Linked DNA regions of Homo sapiens: all the other regions are linked to region 1. Evidence: promoter capture Hi-C in 16 types of primary human blood cells and fetal thymus (Javierre and others, 2016). All regions are on one chromosome and are shown on one strand. The core of a region is centred on a gene start or on the middle of the fragment in contact, and the rest is flanking DNA. Distances in the headings are between cores, read along the strand shown. Region 1 holds the start of RASGEF1B (RasGEF domain family member 1B). Region 2 has its middle 170 kb from the start of HNRNPD. Region 3 has its middle 250 kb from the start of HNRNPD. Region 4 has its middle 320 kb from the start of HNRNPD.

What was found. The method cuts DNA at HindIII sites, captures the fragments that hold promoters and counts their contacts. A CHiCAGO score of 5 or more calls a contact.
Region 2: a fragment that was not itself captured here is called in contact with the fragment with the promoter of RASGEF1B in region 1 in 17 of 17 cell types (erythroblasts, megakaryocytes, total CD4 T cells and 14 more); the score reaches 18.6 in erythroblasts.
Region 3: a fragment that was not itself captured here is called in contact with the fragment with the promoter of RASGEF1B in region 1 in 1 of 17 cell types (erythroblasts); the score reaches 5.4 in erythroblasts.
Region 4: a contact is called between a fragment that was not itself captured here and the fragment with the promoter of RASGEF1B in region 1, in 1 of 17 cell types (erythroblasts). The highest score is 6.4, in erythroblasts.

What each region holds. Positions count from the first base shown.
Region 1 is chr4:81,468,240-81,474,093 of GRCh38, reverse strand. It overlaps RASGEF1B (RasGEF domain family member 1B), which reads left to right and starts at 2,187. Exons shown (of 14, transcript NM_152545.3): 1 at 2,187-2,324. RefSeq lists a silencer at 1,846-2,255. The HindIII fragment of the contact is 14,883 bases long and covers 1-5,854 here.
Region 2 is chr4:82,203,384-82,209,237 of GRCh38, reverse strand. No RefSeq gene overlaps it. Among named protein-coding and RNA genes, the nearest start is that of HNRNPD, 170 kb to the left of the region's middle. The HindIII fragment of the contact is 5,880 bases long and covers 727-5,854 here.
Region 3 is chr4:82,119,841-82,125,694 of GRCh38, reverse strand. No RefSeq gene overlaps it. Among named protein-coding and RNA genes, the nearest start is that of HNRNPD, 250 kb to the left of the region's middle. The HindIII fragment of the contact is 888 bases long and covers 3,171-4,058 here.
Region 4 is chr4:82,046,910-82,052,763 of GRCh38, reverse strand. No RefSeq gene overlaps it. Among named protein-coding and RNA genes, the nearest start is that of HNRNPD, 320 kb to the left of the region's middle. The HindIII fragment of the contact is 2,331 bases long and covers 2,069-4,399 here.

The sequences.
Region 1 (5,854 bases), core at 938-3,437:
CTGCAGTAGGCTCTGCCCGGTTCCAACTTCCCAGAGGCTTTGTTTACACTGTGAGTGTAAAACTGCCTACTCAAGCCTCAACAATGGTGGATGCCCCTCCTCCCACCAAGCTCGAGTGTCCTGGGTTGATCTCAGACTGCTGCTGTGCTGGCAGTGAGAATTTCAAGCCAGTGGATCTTAGTTTGCTGGGCTCCATTGGGGTGGGACCGGCTGAGCCAGACCACTTGGCTCCCTGGCTTCAGCAACCCTTTCTAGGAGAGTGAACGGTTCTGTCTCGCTGGTGTTCCAGGCGCCACTGGGGTATGGAAAAAAAAAGAACTCCTGTAGCTAGTTCGGTGTCTGCCCAAATGGCCACCCAGTTTTGTGCTTGAAACCCAGGGCCCTGGTGGGGTAGGCACTGGAAGGAATCTCCTGGTTTGTGGGTTGCGAAAACTGGCACAAGCACAGTATCTGTGCTGGAGTTCCTCAGGCTCAGTCCCTCATGGTTTCCCTTGGGTAGAGGAGAAAATTCCCCAACCCCTTGCACTTCTCGGGTGAGGCGATGCCCCACCGTGCTTCAGCTCACTCCCCGTGGGCTGCACCCACTGTCCAACCAGTCCCAGTGAGATGAACTGGGTACCTCAGTTGGAAATGCAGAAGTCACATGCTTTCTGTGTGAATCTCGCTACGAGCTGCAGACTGGAGCTGTTCCTATTCAGCCATCTTGCCAGCAATCCCCTGCAACTCTTAATTTCTGGCTACAGGATCAGTAATGTCAAGGGTGTAAGTGACTGGCCCAATGTCATATGGCTCGTTTGTTACAGAATCGGGATGCAAAAACTGAGCTTGAAAAATCAACCAACCAGTACAACCACAACAGCAGGGCAGGGCCACCCAGCCTCTGTGTTTCACTCTGCATGGCTGGCCCACCAAGTTCCCTTGGCCTTATGGCTTCTCATTTAAACTGCAGAGAAGCTATGGTTAAGTCAAAGGCTCAAGTAGGTTAGAGTGAATTACTGAATCAGAGGAGTCCTATTTACACAAAGGAGGGAAGGAGTATCATAAAGAGGAAGAAAAGTAAAAGGAGGCATAAATGAAGAAAATGAAAGAGGAATCCGCTAAGAATAGACAAAGTGAGCGTCAAAATGACTCCACCCCAGGAAGGAGAGGGGGAGGGACCCATGGAGCAGGAGGGAAAAGGATTCCTCCCCCTCAGTAATCTTAATTATAACAGTATAGGACAGGTATGAATAGTGTTGTTTTATATATGAGAAAACTGAAGCTCAGAAAAGCTGTATCACTTACTCAAGGAAATACAGTTGGTAAGAGTCTCCTAATTCTGTAAATTTTTTCTTTTCATAGGTCTCTTTCTTCCCTTGTTTCCATCATTATTTCCCTCTGGCCTCCTTTTATGTGTACAAAGTGAAGTACGGAGGTTTTTACCTTTTTTCTGAAATAGTTATCAAATATCCCATGATGGAGTGAGTACGTGGTTACCATGACAACACAGCCCTCACTGAGGACTAGCCTCCCTGCTTTGCCTCCGGAATCATGTTTCACGGAACAGGTTCCTCTCCGTGCAACTTCTAGCAGCTGTAATTCTACATTTTGTTTGGGTGATTATTTGCTGAATGTCTGTCCTCCACTAGACTATGTAAGTTTCACAATGGCAGAGACCAGCCTACTTTGCCAAGTGTGCCCCCAGCGTTTTGCACAGTGCTTAGCACCAGGATCTATGTGTTATTTGCTAAGCAAATGTTCTGTGGTTCCTCTCCGCTCTCTTCTGAAAGTTACATGGACAGTAACCTTTAGCTCACAATTATGTTAATAAATACTGTGTAACGAGTCGGGCCGGTATTTACAGATAGTATACACGTGAATGAACACACACACACTCACGACTGCACAACAGCCCGGGGCAGGTGCACTCAAGAGGAAACGCGCACAGTCGGAGCCAGCCTGACCAACGCTGTTAAACACCGCTGCGCTGGGCTCCGCGGGCCTCTGCCGCGTGGGAGGGCACCCAGGCTGACGCGCTGCGGGAGTCTGGGGCCCACTGGGACTTGCCTGCCGGGCCGGGTGGCGGCGGCGTGGGCGGTGAGCTGCGCGGTGATTGGCCCGCGCCTGCCGGGGCGGGGCGGGGCTGGCAGCGGGAGGCAGGCGCCTGAGCCAAGGGGGGCGTGCGCGGCGGCGGCTGCCGTAGTTTCAGTATAAACAAGGAACCCGACTGGTTAGACAGATTTTGTTTTTCTTCTTCCCGCGCGCTTTAGCTCCCTGTCCTTTGGTCGCATTTGTGGGCGCGCGGCACGCAGCCGGGAGGCCGAGGACTCGGAGTTCACCTGCAGGTAGGTTGTTCCCTGGCTGGGTTGTTCTCCCGGCTGGGGGACCACAGCCCGGAGCGGGAACTCCGGACCCTACTGCGCGCTGCGCTCTCCCTGGAGATCCCTGGGCCGCGCGGGGAGCGAGCGGGGCTCAGAGACTTCACCGGCTGCCGGGTGCGCTCCGAGGCGGCGGGAGATCCCGAGGCGAGTGAGCGCGAACGCGGGCGCCAAGAGCCGAGTTACAGCCCGGGACCGGGGGAGGGCCCCTGCCCGGCCGCTGCGGGTACCTGGGACTGCCGCGGCCCCAACAGGTGCGAGGCCGAGCCGCTGGGACCCGGGCAGGGCCAGGCTTGGGTTGGGTTGGGTTGTGCCTTCCCTCTTTCTCCCTGATCCTGCAGCCAGGCCTTCTGTCTCGAGATAGGTGGTTTTTGAGGATTTGTCTTGAGTTGTAATCGCGTCCATCATTTTTTTCATCCCTTCTTTCCTTCGTGTGCATACCTAGGTTGATTCTTCCACTTCTTGACCAGTTTTGTGTGCGTGTGTGTGTAGGGGGAGCTGTTTATTTTTGTTGTCAGTGCCATGTAATCTAAAGTCTGACTCGTAGGAAGGGACAAGGGAACAGAAGTCACATACTCGCCACCGACAAGGTGATGTGCTGTCATCCTTCGGTGTTCACCTGGCAAACTTGGGAGACACTGAGTCGCCTTGCTTTTGCCAGAGCTCAGTTGAGTCGCCTCGGGTCACCTGCCTGGGGAATCTCAGATGAGCTAGAGGTATCTAGGAGCCTCGCGGGCAGTCAGCTTAAGGGAGGTTCTTTCTAAGGGAGCTGTGAAAACAACTTAAGTGCTGCACCAGGGAAAAGGGCGAGACGGGGGCTGGGGTGCGCGCGCCTTTGTGTGTGTGTATGGACGTACCATTTCAATACTGCTTGCTGTCTTGCCCCAACCAAATCGGCGCAGTTCAGGCAAAAGCAACGTAGCTTAATCCTCTGACACTGCCGAGGGTGGCACAAGTGTGGCAGATAACACAAGGAGATTGTCTAGACGGCGATTTTCTCTTCGGAATGTAGATGTGTCCATCCTCCCTGATGAATTCGGTGGATATGGTGTATATAGATGAATATGCACACAAATTTGTGTATGTGTTTGGGCCGAACGCGTCTCCAAGGAGTCCTTCGTCAGCACCATGTGACGACGGTCAGGAACTGCTGGTGTGTGTAGATCTATATTTAGCTCAGATGGTCTAATGGCCGAAGGGAGGGTCTCTGAACTGGGTGCATAAAGGGGAAGAGTCTAGGGATCAGGGTGGTGCACTCTTGAATGATGTCTGGCACAGTCACACTCAGATGGGGTGAATAATTGCCCTTTCCTCGTGAAAACAGTAGCTAGAGCTTGGCATGTGATGGCTATGCCTTAATTTAAAACATAGTTGGACCATGGCGATAAGCCTCTGCTAAGAAACAAGGAGGTTTACAGTTAAGCAGCGTATATACCTGGTTGGCCGTTTGGGTGAAAATAACTGGTCCCATGAGATTTAGAACAAATATAGAGTTGCTTTCTTTAATAAAAAGAAATAAAAATTATTTGCTGTTGAGGTTTTCATAACAGAAAAAAAGAAGGCAGCTTGTTAAACCCTATCATTAAAGGTAATTTTATTTTTTTAAGTGAGGGGCAGTGGTGGAGCTAGAGAGGAGGACCTTAGGGCACTTTTGACAGATATCAGGGTTTACAAACAGCGTTATATTATGCCTCTCAAGCAGATTTTCTGGTGAAGATGAGATCAGCCACTGATTAACAAGTTTCTTGTTGGCATTCTTCCACTGCATGTCGGGTCAATCCTTTGTTTTCTTGGAGGTGGGCAACATTTCTAACTACTAAGCATATTGGCCTTGTACTTTCCAGTTGTCTAACGAAGTGTTACATTCTTAGAATTTATTTCTCCTATGGTGCATTTTCAGTCTTGCTTCATTTTATGTGCTCCACTGGATATTTTATCTGATACTAACACATCTAATACCTGGGAATCATACTGTCTTTTGGAGAAGAGAATCACCAGAAAGCATTCCCATGTATTGTCTCCCGCTAACCCCCTACAGCTTAGCATCTAATAGATTATTTATATGTGTGTGTGTGTGTGTGTATATATACACATATATGTACATATATACATATGTATTTATATGTATAACTAAATCAAAGTATTATAATAACACATAGTTCTTATATAACATTTTATTCTTAGAACCTAAAATTAACTACTAGTTAATAGAGTACAATAGACTATATAAAAACAATTCAATACACCTTTCTAAGGAAAAAGACATGGTAAGAAAATTGAAGGGGAGGAGCTGGGATCCCTAGTATGACTCAGGAGTGTTGGGATCAGCTTTGTCAATATCCGCAGAGTACCTGGAAGAATTGGACTTGGGAGGAACATTGGGATAGCCCCAGGAGAGCACCTCCTTGGAAAGGAGATGGGTGAATGGAATGTCTTTTTCTTTGCTTGGGAGAAGAATCTAGAATCCTTGAAGCAGGGATTGGGAAACTTGATTCTGATGCCACACATAATAAATGAAAAAGCTGTGAAAACATTTTGTGACTTCTTAAAGAGGCCAATTGCACTGTTAAAAATGCTGTTTAAGATTTATGGGATTTTTATTAGTAGTAGTTGAATTCAGGTATTGCCAGCCCACCCCCCTCACTTTTTCAGACCTATAGTTGTCCTTTTTGATTCTCCAGTTAAAACTACAAAAAAGATCCATGCAACCTTTGCTTATCCTAAAGTGACAGATGTTATAGCCTAGTGCTGTGGCATATTTCTGCCTTGGAAATAAGGAGACTTGGGTTCTGGTTGATCTGGAGCCCTAATCAGTGATTTATTTTTTCTCTATGCCTGCAGTGTCTATAAAACGACTGTGGGGAGTTGAACAGAATGATTTATGAGTTTCTTTAGGTCTGTCATAACTGCTTTATTTTGTTGTACTATCGCTTCATGCATTTACACCCTGTCTTAGAGGTGGACTAATGAAGGGACAAGTGATTTGCAGTTAGGTGTTCACCTACTTTCTGGGTACATGGAAATGAAGAGAGGAGAGTGAAATTTCTTTTTTATTTATGAATTCATGTAGAAATTTAATATTAAACTGCTTTTTGCTTTGTTTTTCTTTAGGTATGAATATTAAAAATGATTATCAAAAAGATTGGTGTCAGATTATTTTTTGGCCTATTAAATCAATATTACTATCCACTAAATTTTTAAATTTGTCTTCAACAATCATTTTTTCTTAGGTTTATATTTATTATTTCATTTCAGGATATGCCTATGTCTGGAAATCATTCAGTTGATTCAAACTTTATTAGGAAACCCTGCTTAGAAAATTAGTTTAACCCAGAGAAAGTACAAATTAGCCTGGACTACCAATATCTTTCTATTGATCTAAAAGAGAAAAATGGGAAGGGATGAATATAGTTTTTCAAAAACTCACAGCTGGAAAATTATCCCAGTAACCATGTTATATACTAAAATATAAATAGAAAACTCTACTTTTTAATAAA
Region 2 (5,854 bases), core at 2,417-4,916, 730 kb before region 1:
AAAAAATGAATGACAAGTTGGGGCAAATGATTAAATGGTGAATTATGGATCTTCTTGTTTGGCTTTTTCCGTCACAGCATATTGTGTTCATAAGTTTCTCATTACTGGGCCATTCTTGTTTTCTCTGCTTAATTTTATTTGGTTACCATAGATGATATTTTGTTGAATTATATTTGCTAACATTTTATTTGTAATTTCACTCTTATACTCTTAAATGAAATTTTTCTAAGTCTCCTTCCACTCTTTTCTTTCCTTCCTCTTCCCTTTTCTTCCCTGTCCCTTAGCCTTTCCAAAAAAATGTTTTTGTACTATCTTTGTGAAGTTTTGGTATTAAGGCTATATTTGCTTTTCTAGAATTCATGAGGTTGTTTTCCATTTCTTACTTATGTTCTTTCTGGTGCTGGATCCATTTGCTTCATATGATACTATCTGTCCCTCAAATTTTGAAAGAATTCACCTGTAAAACATGATGAGCTGGGAACATAACCATTCTAGTAAACAAGATAAGTGGGAGAGGAAAGTTGGTATATAGTTTTTATTCTTTGAAAATGCCTGCCCTTCTTTGCAAGTTAATTCTCCTTCTAAATGAGAATAATAACAAGGACCTTTGTACCTTTGAGATTAAGCAGTATCTTAAACTGGAATTTTCCTGGTGCAATAATTACATTTGCTGCTCCATCAGTTCAGACTTGATGGTCTATTGACATTAGTGGTCCCTGAAAAGCTTCTTGATGATTTATTTTGTTCCTGCTCTGCCCAGGTGACAAACCGACTTATTTTCCTCTTTGTTGGCATATTGAGGGTACAATGTCTTCCTACTTTGGGAAAAATCATGATGTAGTGCTGAGAGCATGGACTACTTTGGAGATCGATGGATCTGACTTTCCAAGCCAACCACACTGCTTATTATAATGTCAACTTTTCTCATCCCTCAAGTGAGACTAGAAATAAAGTCAAGCCATTGGTTTTATGGAAAAATTAAGTGAAAAAATCTTTTTCAAATGCTGAGCACAGATGGTAGCTCTTTTTATTCAATGCTTCATATTCATTGCTTCTTTTTTATTACACCAACAGTGTCAAAATGTAGTCAGAAATGTAAAAAATGTTAACTTTTTAAGTAAAAAATAACTTTATTGAGGTATAATTTACATACAATAAAATGCTTCCATGAGTGTGTATGTATATTTTTAATTTTTAATTACTATGGGAATATAATAGCTGTATATATTAATGGGGTACATGTGATGTTCTGATACAGGCATACAATATGTAAGAAACACATCAGAGTAAATGGAATATCCATCACCTCAAGTATTTATCATTTCCTTGTGTTAGGGACATTCAAATTCTATTCTTTTGGTTATTTTTAAATACACGGTAAATTATTAATGACTTTAGTCACCCTGTTATACTATCAAATAATAGATCTTATTCATTCTATCTATGTATTTTTTGTACACATTAATCATCCCCACTCCATTTCCCCTCACCCCCATGTTACCCTGCCCAGCCTCTGGTAATGATCATTCTGCTCTATAGCTTCATGAGTTCAATTGTTTTAATTGTTAGTTCTCACAAATGAGTGAGAATATGTGAAATTTGTCTTTCTGTGCCAGGCTTGTTTCACTTAACATAATGTCCTCCATTTCCATCCATGAAACTGACATGAAATGACAGGATTTCATTATTTTTTATGGCTGAATAATATTCTATTTTGTAATATGTGCCACATTTTCTTTATCTGTTCATTGACTGATGAACACTTAGGTTGATTGTAAATCTTGGTTATTGTGAATAGAGCTGCAATAAACATGGGAGTGTAGGTGTCTCTTCGATATACTGATTTCCTCTCTTTTGGATATAAATCTAGCAGTGGGATTGCTGCATCATACGGTAGCTCTTTTTTTAGTGTTTTGAGGAAACTCCATACTGTTCTCCATGGTGGCTATACTAATTTACATTCCACCAACAGTGTATGAGGCTTCTTCTTTCTCCATATCCTCACTAGCATTTGTTATTAGTTTTTGATAACCATTCTAACTGGGGTGAGATGATATCTTATTGTGGTTCTGATTTGCATTTCCCTAATTATTAATGGTGTTGAGCATTTTATAATATACCTGTCTGCCATTTTTATGTCTTCCTTTGACAAATGTCTGTTTAGATCTTTTGCCCATTTTTAAATCAAATTATTTATTGAGTTGTTTGAATTCCTTATTTATTCTAGTTATTAATCCCCTGTCAAATCGGTAGTTTGAAAATATTTTCTCCCATTCCGTGAGTTGTCTCTTCACCTTGTTGATTGTTTCCTTTGCTGTGCAGAAGCCTTTTTACTTGATGTAATCCCATTTGTCCCTTTTTTGCTTTGGTTGCCTGTGCTTTTGAGGTATTACTAAAGAAATCTTTGCCCAGATCAATGTCCTGTAGAGTTTCCCCAATGTTTCCTTTTAGTAGCTTCATAGTTTAAAGTCTTAGATTTAAGTCTTTAATCCATTTAATTTGATTTTTGTATATGGCGAGAGTTTCATTCTCTTGCATGTGGACATCCAATTTTTCCAGTACCTTTTATTGAAGACTGTCCTTTTTCCAATGAATGTTCTTGGCATCTTTGTCAAAAGAGCTCACTGTAGATGCGTGGATTTATTTCTGTGCTTTCTGTTCTATTGGTCTATTTGTCTGTTTTTATGCCACTACCATACTGTTTTGGCTACTATAGCTTTGTAGTATCATTTGATGTCAGATAATGCTATTCCTCCAGTTTTATTGTTTTTGCTCAAGATAGCTTTGGCTATTCTGGGTCTTTAGTGGTTATTATGAATTTTAGGATTATCTTTTCTATTTCTGTGAACAATGTCATTTGTATTTTGATAGGGATTGACTGAATCTACAGATTGCTTTGGGTAGTATGGACAATTGAACACTATTGATTATTCTAATACATGAACATGAAATATCTTTCCATTTTTCGGTGTCCTCTTCAGTTTCTTGCATTAATGTTTTATAGTTTTCATTGTAGAAATGTTCCACTTCTTTGGTTAATTGCTAGATATTTTATTTCATTTGTAGCTATTATGAATGGGATTACTTTCTTGATTTCTTTTTTCAGATTTTTCACTGTTGGCATAAAGAAATGCTACTGATTTTTGTATGTTGATTTTGTATCCTGCAAATTTACTGAATTTATTTATCAATTCTAATACTTTTTTGTGAAGTCTTTAAGTTTTTTCCAAATATAAGATCATATCATCTACAAGTAAGGATAATGTCACTTCTTCCTTTCCAATTTGGATCCCCTTTATTTCTTTCTCTTGTCTGATTGCTCTAACTAGGACTTCCAGTACTATGTTGAATAACAATGGTGAGAGTGGGCATCCTTGTCTTGTTCCAGATCTCAGAGGAAAGGCTTTCAGTTTTTGCCTGTTTAGTATGATACTAGCTGTGGGTCTGTCATATATGGCTTTTATTGTGTTAAGATATGTTCCGTCACTGCCCATTTTTTTAGAGTGTTTATCATGAATGGATATTGAATTTTACTGAATGTTTTTTCAGCATCAATTGAAATGATATTATTATTTGATAATGATAATTTAAATGATCATATTCTGTTTATATGACATATCATGTTAATTGATTTGCATATCTTGGACCATCTTTGCATTTCTGGGATGAATCCCACTTGGCCATGATAATGATCTTTTAAATATGTTGTTGTATTTGGTTAGCTAGAATTTTCTTGAGAAATTTTTATCTATGTTCATCAGAGATAGTGGCCTGATGTTTTCTTTTTTCTTGTGTCTTTGTCTGATTTTGGTATCACAGTAATACTGGCCTTGTAGAATGGGTTTGGAAATAGTCCCTCCTCTTCACTTTTTTTTTTTTTTTGGTATAGTTTGAGTAGGATTGGTGTTAGTTCTTCTTTAAATGTTTAGTAAAATTCAGTAGTTAAGCCATTGAGTCCTGAGATTTTCTTTGCTAGGAGACTTTTTATTATGGCTTCAATCTCATTACTTGTCACTGGCCTATTCAGATTTTGGATTTCTTCATGGTTCAATCAGTAGGTTGTATGTGCCCAGAAATTTATCCATTTCTTTTAGGTTTTCCAGTTTATTGGCATATAGTTGTTCATAATAGCCTCCAATGATTCTTTGAATTTCTGTGCTATCAGTTGTAATGTCTTCTCTTTTATTTCTGATTTTATTTATTTGGGTCTTCTCTCTTATTTAAGTTAGTTTTGCTAAAGGTTTTTCAATTTCACTTATCTTTTCAAAACACCAACTTTGCATTTTATTGGTCTTTTGTATTATTCTTTTGCTATCAATTTCATTTATTTCTTCTCCGATCTTTATTATTTCTTTTTTTCTATAAATTTTAGGTTTGATTTGCTCTTTCTTTTCTAGTTCTTTAAGATGTATTATTAGGTTATTTATTTGAAGTTTTTCTACTTTTTGGATGTAGGGACTTATTTGCTATAAACTTTCCTCTTAGTACTGCCTTTGCTATACCTGATAGATTTTAATATGTTGTGTTCTCATTTTCATTTGTTTCAAGAAATTTTTCAATTTTCTTCTTAATTTCTTCATTGATCCACTGGTCATTCAGGAGCATACTGTTTAATTGTCATGTTTTCATATAGTTTCCGAAGTTTCTCTTGTAATTGATTTCTAGTTTTATTCCATGGTGAGCAGAGAATATACTTCATTTTATTTCAATTTTCTTTTCTTTTTTGTAAATACCAGGCAAAGATCAGGTGAAAGATTTCAATTTTTGTGAGTTTTTAACGACTTGTTTTTTTGCCTAATATATGGCACGTCCTTGAGAATGATGCATGTGCTAAGAAGAAAGTGCATTCTGTAGCTGTTGGATGAAATGTTCTGTAAATATATCTATTAGGTGCATTTAGTCTATAGTGCAGATTAAGTTTGATATTTCTTTGTTTATTTTCTGTCTGGATGATCTGTCCAATACTGAAAGTGGGTTGTTGAGATCTTCAGCTATTATTGTATTGGGGCCTATCTCTCTCTTTAGCACTAATAATATTTTCTTTATATATCTGGGTGCTCCATTGTTGGGTGCATATATATTTACAATTGGTATATCCTCTTGCTGAATTGACCCCTCTATCATTATATGATAACCTTCTTTGTCTTAAGATCTACACTATCTAATATAAGTATCGCTACTCCTGCTCTTTTTTGGTTTCCGTTTGCATGGGATATGTTTTTTCCACCCCTTTATTTTCAGTCTGTGTCTTTATAGGTGAAGTGAGTCTCTTGTAAACAACATATAGTTGAGGTCTTATTTTTCTATCCATTCAGCCACTCTATGTCTTTTGATTGGAGAGTTTAGTTCATTTACGTTCAATGTCATTATTGATAGTTAAGGACTTACTACTGCCATTGTTATTTGTTTTCTGTTTGTTCTGTGGCCTTCCTTTCTTCCTGTCTTCCTTTGTGTAAAAGTGATTTTCTCTGGTAGTATGTTTTAATTTCTTATTTTTAATCTATCTGCTGTAGGTCTTTGATTTTAGGTGACCATGAGGCTTGCTTGCAAAAAACATTTTATAACCCATTATTTTAAACTGATGACAACTTAACTCTGATGACCAAAACAAAAAACAAACAAAAAAAAACCCCAAAAAACCACACTCCACTAATAAACAAGCAAAAAGAAAACAAATAAAAACTCTGCACTTTAACACCATCCCTCCAAAACTTTTTAACTTTTCACTGTTTCTATCTTTCAATACTATCTACCTGTTAAAAAGTTGTTATAGTTATTATTTTTGATTGGTTTGTCTTACTCAAGATATGAGTGGTTTAACACTACAATTATAATGTTACAGTAGTCTGTTTTT
Region 3 (5,854 bases), core at 2,365-4,864, 650 kb before region 1:
ATGGAGGGTGCAGGGCTGGGTGTGCTTGTTCACCTGACATGAGGGTCACCACAGGGAGGCCAAGGTAGGGACAGGAATGAAGATTCTTTGTTGTAGATGCAGGGAGTGAAGCTTGGGGCTGTGGCCAATAGACTAAGAGGCAGTCATGTAGTCCTAAAGCTTCAAATGAAAGCTATGGAAATCGAGCAGATGGTGGGGCAGAAGGTAAGCCAAGGTCAGAGGCAAGTAGCAAGCATTTCTCTTGGGAGGTGGGTTGCCCTTACAGGCTGTGAGGGGAGGTGCCACCCTTTGCAGAGGACAGCACAGGACAGCCCTGGGAGTCGAGCCAGTGAGCAGGGTCTCAAAGGGACCCTGACCTCAGGGTGGGAGAGGCCCTGTGCCTGGAGCTAACAGGCTCCACACTCCATAAGCAAAGTTGCTGTACCCAGTAGGGATGGAATCATATCAATAATAGCAGCACCTTCATTTATTTAGTGCTTTTAATGCTTCAGAGAGCTTTCTCCTCTTTTACCGCACACGTATAAAGTGCTGCACTTTCCCCGGGGAGACGACGCCAGTGGCTTCCCATCAGCTCTTGCCCTTTGTGTTGTTTTCCCAGAAGTGTTTATAGACTTGTCTGATTAAACCATACTTTTTGGTCTCATGATAATCCACAGGAATTGGAAATGTCAGAGTGAAACCATATATTGTCCATATCCTCACACTTTTTGAATTTTTAAATTTTTTTATAATAGATTTGGGGGATATAAGTGAAGACTTTTTTACATGCATATGTTGTGTAGTGATGAAGTATACTCACACTTTTGTGAGATATGAACACACACATTCATTTTTTCAACTGAAAATTCTTATTGTGAACATACAAGTTAGCAGGCCCTGCTTGGTGCTATACATGTACACATATTTCTATGTAAAAGATGTGTCTATATGTTATTATCCTATAAAATCTCCTCCTACCCAGAGGTCAGACTGGTGGTGGCCTCAAACATTCAGAACACGAGTTGGAAAAGGGTCGTAAGGGAGGCTAGAAGCTGCAGACGGTTAGAGACTTCATTCCACAGGAAAGACAGAATTGCCCTCAGGCGGTTGCTCAGAACTACTGTGTGTATAATGCAGCAGATGATAGCAGCAGGACTCACTGACCTCGGTGAGAAATGACAGCTGACAGCAGAGGGAGGGGACAGAAGAACTCTTGAAAGCAGAATCATTTCTTCTGAATTCTCTCTGGTTCTTCAGCACAATGGTCTGAGGCCATTTCATTCTGAGCAGTGCTACATTAAATAGCACAATAATTAATAGTCAAAATGCTACTAGCTCATGTTTGCATAGCTTTTTAGAAATTACAATTCTTTACAGTATATGGTCTTATTAAATCAATGCAAAATCGCTATGGCAGCATCCATCAGAATCACCTGGAAGTTGTTAAAACACACATTGCTGCTTGCTTGTCCCTACCTCCTCCCAACTTGAGTTTTTGATTCAGTAGGTCTGAAGTGGGGCCCCAAGTCAGTCTTCCTGACAGTTTCCCACACGACTCTGCTGCTGCTGGCTGGGGCCACACTTTGAGAACCACTGCCCTCTAGGGTATGTGTGGCTTCTTGTATTATTACTGTCACTATTTTACAGAGGAAAAATGAAGTTTCAGAGAAGTTGAATTACTTAACCAAGGTCACCCAGGTGGCAGATTTCAGACTTCAGTTTAAGTCTTCGAAGAATAAGCCATATGTTTTTTCAACTATGTGCTATTGTCTCAGATTTTTTTCCTAAAAAATTAGAGTTTAACACGTTAGATTTTCTTCAAAGTACTTGGAATTAAAACATTGTCATTGTAGTTTATTAGAACATTTACGTATGTGGCATATATTCTTCTTTGACAATACTGGATGGGGTTCTTGGTATGTGTAGCTTCTGGAGCACTTAGAACATTCAAATAAATGCTAAGAAATTAGGGTGACTGGGTGGAGAAGGAACACATGGAGGAAGTAGGATTTGAAGTGACTGGGGCAGGTGCAAATCCTTTGGAAAAGAGCCATAAAGTAGCGGAAAGACATGACAGTTAGCAGATCAGAGGGAAACTGGTATTTTAGGAGCATTTTCCTGCATGGATAATTTAGCCAACCCAGAATGCTTGTATTGACTTTGATTTGATGTTGGTCTTCTCTAGAGGGAGTCTGTAAGGGTTTTTTCCAGCTAAACAACCATTTTGCTTCCAGGTTAAGAATGCCTAAGAAAATATCCTATTATGTTCATGGAAATATCCTATTATGTTCAAGAAAATATCCCTTATGTTCATGTTTATGTGTCGATTTTTCTTTTCTGTGAGTTTTTTCCCAAGTCCTTTCTAAATCAATTACAGAGTTATGAAGAAGCCTTTTAAGCACCTCTAAAGGCATTTTAAAGAAAATTCCGAGATCACTTATGTCCTTTCATTTCAAGACTGTGATAGCTGCCATTAATGCAGAAATGTGACATTAGTCTTTCAGGTTGTAACCAGGCTGGATCAGGTGGGGTTCAGTCAGGATAACAAAACCCCTGTAGGCATTTTAAATATGGAGAGATTTAATAAAGGTATTGAGGTGCTTACAAAACCATGGGAAAGACTGGAAGAGTGAAAATCAAGGAGACTGACATTAGTTTCGGGTTTACTGCCACAGAAAAGCAGAGAGCTGTTGCAGCTAAGAATCAAGAACCTGCAGGAATGTGGCCAGTGGCCTCACAGCTTTCTTCAGTGCTGAGGGGCTGAAATGGGAAGGAAACAAAGACGCCACTGCATAAACATACCTGTGAAACTCACGTATTTGTCTGCCAGTGCTTCCAGAACAAGAAAAAAGAATGTCTTCTTCGTCTCTTCCACCTTACTAGTCTTGCAGGAGTGCAATTTTATTGATGAAATCTAAGAACTTTCGAGTTTACAGGATCCATTTGAAGTAAAATTTATGTCACTACACAGATGTGGCTTTTTCTTCAAATTACCAACTAGGGGTGGACACACGGAATTTTGCTGGAAGTGGAGGTCTTCACATCTCATTACCAAACCTCTGAGCTATGAAGTTTCACTGCATTTGCAGTTTCTGTATTTGGTTTTGCTTGACAGGTATTCATGACTTATTGATTGTATTTTTATTTGTAATAAAACCTTAATTCTTAGGAATCATGCTAAAGCAGAAGCTTCCATTAATTAGATTCCCTCTCTCATAGGCCTTCTTTGGAAAGAAGTTTTATCACTGGAAAATGGAAAGTTTTAATTTTTACTGCAAAAATTCAACAATATATCCAATTACCCAATTAATATAAGCCTGCTATGGTTGAAATGTGTCCCCCGAAGTTCATGTGTTGGGAACAGTCCCCAATGCAACAGTGTTGAGAAGTGGGACCTTTAATAAGTGCTTAGGTCCTGAGGGCTCTGCCCTCATGAATGAATTAATGTCATTATTGCAGGAGTGGGTTAATTATTGTGAGAGAGGCTTTATTATAAAGGCAAGTTTGGCCCCCTCTCACTCTCTGGCTCTTGAGCCTGCTCTCTTGCTCTCTATCTGCTGCCCTCGGATGATGCAGCAAGAAGGCCCTCACCAGATGCAGGCCTCTCGACCTTGGACTTCTCAGCCTCCAGAAATGTAAGAAATAAATTTCTTTTCTTTGCAAATTACTCAGTCTTTGGCATTCTGTTATAGCAACACAAAATGGACTAAGACAATGTCCATTATACAAAAGTGGGAAAAAAGATAATATTTTATATATTTATATAACTAATATATATTTGTTTAATCTGTGCTCCTTTATTGGAATTCTAATTGGTTGCAGTTTTTATTTTTCACTTTAAGTACCAATGATTATGTAAACGGTCTGATACATGCATCCTACGATAAGCAATATCCTTGGATAAATTCCTAGTAGATTTTTAGCATCTAAAATGATGTACTTTTAGAGGATTTTAAAATATGTATTTATAAATTGACTGCCAGGAAGATTAGGATACTTTTAATCTCCCACTATCTGTGAATAAAAGTTCCCGATTTTCTGAACTCTTACCAATATTGGGTCTTATATTTAAAAAAGCTTTGCTAATCTGATAGTTAAAACGTATTTAATTGTTTTAACTTGATTTTCTTTGATAACTAGAGAGGATGAAGATTTTTTTTAAATGCTATTATCTTTTCACATGTATTCTCCTAATGAAATTATACCTTTAGCCTATTTTTCTATTGGGTTGTTAGACTTCTTTGAAAAATGATTTGTAGTAGCTCTTTATTAATTAACGATAAAATCACTTATCCCTTATTTATGTTGGAAATATTTTTCTCAAACTGCTGTTTGCCTTTTAATTTCATTTTATATTTCTGAAAGAATTTAAATTTTTTAGTTAATCAAAAATTCCTTCCTCCTTCTCGCCTGCCTGCCTGCCTGCCTTCCTTCCTTCGCCCTTTCCTTTCTCTTTCCTTCCATCCATCCATCTTTCTATCTGTATTTCTATCTTTCTCTCCCCTCCCTCCCTCTCACCCCCTCTTTCTTTTTCTTCTCGGTCTTTCTCTCTCTCAAGAAAAGGCAAGATACTGGTTAAGTGGGCTCATATATTTTAGAAAGGCCCAAACAGAATTGCCAAGAATTGCATAAGAACGTTCAGTTTCATAAAACCTGTAGTTCTGTAAGAAGGTTCTACCTAGATAATGACAAAATTAGGGATGATTATGTCATTAGGGATGATATAGGCAAATACAAACTCAGCAACCAAAGTCTACAATACGCCATGTGTGAAATGTTTAAAAATTACTGAACAAATGCCATAAAAGAATTGCTTCTTGTCTTTTGGAAGTTAAAAATAAACTAGATGTAGGTTTCTCACTTATGAAAGTAATATGTAATTTTGGTAAAAAATTAAGAAGGCCACCAGTGGCCTTCTCACACTGTAAGAACTCTACCAAATAGTTTCTTTTGTATCCTTTTAGAAAGTTTCTACATATGCACAAAAATAGAGAATATCCCTTAAAACACCTCCTCTATAGATACATGAGATAATACCGAATGTAATATTCTGCAGTTAATTATTTTGTTAATTAATGTTGAATTTTAGACCTCTTTTTACATCGCTACATAAAAATCTACTAGTCTTTACTGTATACAGTAGTATGCTCTATGAATATATCATAGTTTATTTTACTAGATGTTTCTAGATGCTCATTTGATTGGTTCCAGATTTTAAACTTTTATTATTATTATTTTTTAAAGAGATGGGGTCTTGCTATGTTGGCCAGGTTGGTCTTGAATTCCTGACCTCAAGTGATCCTCCCATCTTGGCCTCCCAAAGTGCTAGGATTACAGTCATCATCCACCACGCCTGGCCCTAGTTCTGTATTTTTGTTCTAAGAAAAACTGCTGCAATGTGATTATTATACAGTTAACTCTATTTTTTTTTTTTTTTTGGGATGAGGTGTCACTCTGTCACCCAGGTTGGAGCGTAGTGACATGATCTCGACTCACTGCAACCCCTGCCTCCTAGGCTCAAGAGATCCTCTCACCTCGGCCTTTGAGTAGCTGAGACCACAAGCACATGCCACCACACCCTGCTAATTTTTGTATTTATTGGTAGGTATGGGGTTTCACCATGTTGCCCAGGCTGGTCTCAAATTCCTGAGCTCAGGCAATACACCTGTCTTGGCCTCCCAAACTGCTGGGATTATAGGTGTGAGCCACTGTGCCCAGCCTATTGTAAAGTTAACTCTTGAACAACACAGGTTTGAACTCTGTGCGTCTGCTTATAAGTAGATTGTCTTCCACTTCTGCGACCCGTGAGACAGTAAGACCAACCCCTCCTCGCCTTCCTCAGCCTACTCAACATGAAGATGATGAGGATGAAGAC
Region 4 (5,854 bases), core at 1,985-4,484, 580 kb before region 1:
GGCAGGCGTGACAACAGTGAAGTAAACTTGGAATACTTTCTTGTGAAGGCTTAAGGGCATAGGGATCAAAATTCTTCAGGTCTGCTTATTTTTATTCTGTCAGCAAAATTGGCATGGTTTTGCATTAGACAGTGCATAATTAAAACTGCTTCCTCTTTAAACTCATTCCATATTTCCCTCTCACCCTATGGTGAGGCTGAGAGAGCCTGATCCCTTGCTGCTCTTCTAGTCTAAGGATGATGGGATGCCAGGTGAGGATGTGGGTATGGAGGACTGCCTGGATGCCTATTCAGGCTCCATGTCTTCCTAGCTCTGTGACCCTGGGAAGGTAATCAGCATGTCATGCTGTATTTTCCTCAGTTGTAAAGTAGGGATTATGAAGGTATCACCCAAAGGAGTTGATGACATGATCAATTGTAATAATTGCATAATAGTATATGTAGAGGGCTTAGCACAGTGCCTCCCACGTAGTAGCATGCTGGCTATTGTTACTGTTATTATAATGCTACAGAAATGAAGCATGGGGAAAAATGGACCTGTTGATTCCAGATCATGACTTGTTCTGTTTGGCTCTGGAAGATGACTGAAACACACCTCTGCCCATGGAGAATTGAGAGGTGCTGAAGAACGAGAAAACAGAAATAGTATAAAAGAAAAAGCTTTGGTTTAAATATCTGGCTGCTATAGAACTCCTGGAGGTATGTGGTTGGGTGGGAACTGTCTCTCCTTTTCAGGCTGGTGCAGGATTATCCTTGCTCACTCCCCAACACCCTCAGGTGTTTAGATTTGGTCTGACTCCAGTCATTTCTGACCTATATTTGTTGTGAGACTGATAGAGCCCTCTATCAATGGTGACAAAGGGGTGACCTTGTCTAGAATTCTTTAATCTCACCGAGTATCAAACACAGAGCAGATCTGGACCTCTGCAGATAGGGAGAACTGAGACTGAGCCAAAGTTTAGGGGATGGGGTGGATCTGATCTGGCCAGAGCCAAGAGCCTGTGCATTTACTTGTCCCAGTTTCCTCTCATGTGGACTGTTAGGATGGTGGGCCAGTCCAAGAAGGGGTGGAAGCAATGAAATGCAAATAAAATTGGTATTTGCCTCACGTCCCTTCTGGGTGATTTTTTTGATCTTTAGGTTTCCCATAGAGGACCCAGGCTAGCTCACTGTTCAGCACTATACCTGCTGCGGCTCTGCTTTACAGAAGCTGGCTCCCTCTCTCTGCTCCATTGCCTGTGACCTTTATGCTCTTTGATCTCTGCAGCCACCATTGCTCACTTGGAAGTGCAGAGTCCTGGCTCTGATGCTTCCTTACCTGCTATCTAGCTATGATCCTACTCACTGCTGCCTGTTGGTGCATTTGGCTCCAAGGGCTCCAGATTGATGCTTTACTTCCTGCCCAAGTGAACATTGGCTCTCCACTCTTGAGCTGTGGTTCCTAAGGGGGTGGCATAGCCTTGATGCCACTGTGGGTTTTGTTGTTGTCACATAGTACCAGTCTCCTCATTGTCACTAGTGTTGGCCCAGGCACTCCCACCATCACTGTGGTGAACCAGGCCCTTTGCCACAGCACAATGACTCTTACATCAAGTCCCAAACTGACGAGACGGGTGCCTTATTCTCTTAGTCTATTATCACATCAGTAATATTGTAAGTTTTCAGTGTTCTTCAGTTTCTTTGGGCTCATTTTCTCCAGGCTGTGCCTCTCCTGTGAGTCATAATACAAGTTTCCTCCAGGGCTGGATTAGGAGGGAACTGGCATCACACTGAATGACTTAACTCCTTAAACAGCCTAACCTCCTTTGGTGCTGACCATTAGCTGATTAGACTGACCTGCATCTTGGATCTTTTCCATATTAGAGAATGTCTCCTTCCCATCCAGGACAGCCAGAGCAGGGGTGGAAAGGTTAGGTCTATCTGTTTGCTCATTAAAGAAGCTCTGGTCATCAGTTTCAAGATATACTGCAAAGATTCTCCCAGGGAGTCCTATTATAGTGTTTCAACTAAGGAAACTTAGGTGGCTTACTGTGCCAGGACCTCAAATTGTTATATAAAAGGAGTAAGCTTGGCTGTGATGTGGGAGTGGTACCCTGAATCCATGATGCTGAGTTCTTTTCCCTTCCTTCATTGGTCTTTCCCTTCCTTCTTTTCTCTTTTTTTTTCACCTTGTTCAGAGAAAAGTTCATTTTTCAGTCAAAGTCTCAGTCCAGCATGGTGCTGGGGCAATGACTCAATGGAAAGAGCATGTGCTATCTATCAGGAGATTTAGAATCTGGCCCCAGCTCGACCAATATAGTAGCTGTGTAAACTTGGTCAAAAAACTTAACTTCTCTGTGCCTCTGATTCTTCAACTGTAAACTGGGATATGAGACAGAGAGAGAGAGAGAGAGAGTGAGAATGAATGAATGTGTATGTAGTGGGCATTTGATGAAATGATCTTAAAAACACTCTCTTTTTAATGGATATTGGCTTCTAGCAACTAGTGATAGAAAAGGCCTGGTATACATAGGCTTTGCCACCCACATTCTTAGGCAGAATGGGGGCCCAGACAGACACCACATGCTTGCTTACTGTACCAAGAAAGAAATGAAGCAAACATTAAATTTAAATCAATAGCATTACTTGAACACAGAAGACAAAACTGTTTTCCCCCAAATTGTTTTGATTGCTGTCAGTAGCTGCTATTAGGTATGAAATCCATTCAGATCATCAAAAACCAGAGCAACATACAATGCATGAAAAGCTGTTGTAATTGGCACCATTGTAACTCTATACGGTGTGTGATCTTAGCTGGGAGGAGGGAGAATTGTAGGATAACTTGTAATCTAATTTTCTTTGTTGTAAAATAGAATGTTACCATTGTATTTCTGTGGAATAATAATTATAACATCTCACACAAATAGAGTGCCTTTCTCAGGAGGTGCTTAAAGAGCTCAACAGACATTCATTCAACCTTGTAAACATAGTAAAACCTGGCTTGCTTGCATTTCTCTCAACTGAAAATTCCTATTAACCAACATCTTTCCTCATCCATCCTACTGGGATACATGATTTTTATAGTGGTGAACCTGACACCCTGAGAGACACTGAGGTGCCTTCTGAATCATCTACCTTTGGTAGACCTTCAATGTTAATTGCAATTTATGACAGCCTAATTTTTTGGAAAGTGGTAATTCATATGTTGCAGAGATGATAATTAGTCAGAATAGTTGGTTAATCAGACTGCTCTATTTCCTGACCATACTGAAGTACTGAGTTTACAATAACTAACATGGGATCTCCCTCTAAGACCCACAAAGGAAGCCGGGTAAATGAAAGCAGTGTTCTTTATTACTTGGCAGGCATAAATTACCCAGAATTAATCATTCTGGGCAAATGACAATTTCCAAAGGTTGATTCTTCAACTTCTACATTCTCTTGTAAACTAAATGAGATGAGAAAATAAGTATGTTTTAAACATAGATTTCACTTGCCTCTTAAGACTTTCCCATTTCTAGTTATTAAGGCTATTGTTGATAACTATTGGCTCTTAGCAGCAATGGTGAGTGTCTTTAAAATCAAATTTTGGATGATGTTTTGTAGAACCTTTTCACAAGCACCAGAGATTTCTTCAAGAGAGTGTCAGTGCAGTAGATTTAGTTGTGTTAATTGGTCCATCCTAAATGTTTTATTAAAGTGATAAGATCTTAAATCAATTAAGATTAACATGATGACTAAAAAAAGTCTAAGTTCTTAATTATGGAATTGTAAAAAGTATTTAAATTGGTATTACACTCACGTTTACTGCAGAGAATCTAGAAAATTAAGGAATATATAAAGAAGAAAATAAAAATAATCCATAATTTCATCACTTACAGAGAACTATTATTGCCTTTTGGTGTATTTCCTTCCATTTTGGTCCTAATGTATGCGTACCATGTAAGTATTTTATAAATTTAGAATATGCTACATATACTGTATGCTGCCCCCTACTAACATTACCTACAGGCATTTTCTAGGTCATTAATTATTCTTTTAAAACATACTAGGTTTTGATTATATGTACCATGGTATATTAAGCCACTCTCCTGTTGTTTTTATGGTTTACAAATTTTAGCTTTATCATGCTGTAACAAGTATCCCTGTTCATTTGTTTGTCCATCTGTTTGTCCATGTATTTAAACAATTTTTATTGAGTATTGTGTGCCAGGCTTTGGGCCATGAGCTGAGGATATATCATTAATCATCACCCTAGTCAGAGTTAACGTATTACTATTATGTAGTATGGACCAGGTCCTCTATTAGTATTCATATAATAATTATATGAATCATTCTAATAAGTGAGTATAATAATATTACCTAATTAAGTTCTTATGAGGTATTATTATCCTTGTTTTCCAGATGAGGAAATGGAAGCTTAGAGAATTGAAGTGACTTGCCCAAGATCACTCAACTGGCAATTGGCAGAGCCAGAATTCAAGCCCAGGCAGCCTGAGTTCAGTCCTAGCCTTTGAACCATGGTGGTTACTGTGTCAGTAGAAAAGACACTCACTTGCCCTTACAGACAAGACACAATTGTAAATGCAAAAATGTTTGAGCGATTCTCTGATTATTTTCTTAGGATAAATTCTACAAATGGAAATACTGGGTAAAAAAGTATGAACAACGCTTCCAGTAAATGATACTGCAGTCACAGTCCTAAGTGGGGAAAGACCATAGATGATAAGATTATTTTTTGGTTTGCTTTCCTTTCTTTTCTTTTTTGTCCTGGGTCTCTGTCCTTGCTCTACCAATGACAGGAAGAAATAGACATGGTAGTGATTCAGGCCTGGGCATGCCCTGGAGAAAGTCTGGGCAATGCTCTTGCTGTTCAGTGGGTTGCTGCTTTCAGACATGTTTATTTCCTCTACAAGATGCAAGACATCACAGAGGAGAGGGCATGGGGAGAAAGAAACCATCAAAGGAATGAGTCTAGATTGCAAGTAATGTATAGCCTCTTAAGATGACTGTCACCACAAGAAAATGCATCTGCTCAGTAAAAATCACCAGGTTCAGTTAAATATATATATTTCATACATACATATTTAATAGCTGCTCCTTGCAGAGCAGGGCTAACTCCTAGGCAGCGTGCCCAGAGTCAGCCTAAAGACTTAAAAAAATTCAATTAGTATTTAGTACAGTTTCCCTTGTGCCTAAACCATAGATTATTCATATACGGCAAGTGACTACCTGTAAATATTCCCCATGCTCCTCATTATTGCACACCCCTTCTCAAGTCCCTCTTTCTCAAATGAACATTATCCGTCCTTTGCCCTATCTCCTAGTGCTCAGCACAGACTTGATTGATGGCTGTTCTAGGTTTGATTCCTGGCTCTGCCATTAACCCTCTGTGTGGTCTTGGATTCTCAGTTTCTCCCCTTTAAAATAATAGAGTTGTAGTGTCAATCAAATGAAATGCCATGTGTAGACAAAATAGCTAATCTTTATTGAGTTCTTATTATTGGTACCACAAAATAAAATACCGTTCTAAATGTTTTAAATACACACCTTTACTTATTCCTCAAAATAATCATGCGGTAAGCAGGAGTCTACGTAGCTCTTATGATCTTCACCCTGGAATTACTTCTGTGATTATAGTACATGGCAAAAGCAACTTTGAAGATGTAACTAAGGTGACTAATGAGCTGACCTTAGAATAGAAAGATTATCCAAGTGGGCCCAATGTAATCATATGAGACCTTTAAGTGGTAAACATTTTCTCTGGCTGTTGGCAAAAGAGGAAGTCAGATTTGAAGCATGAGAAGGATTCAATGCAGTTTCTCCTTGAAGATGAAGGAGGCCGCATAAGGAGTCCAGGAAGCCTCTAGAAGCAG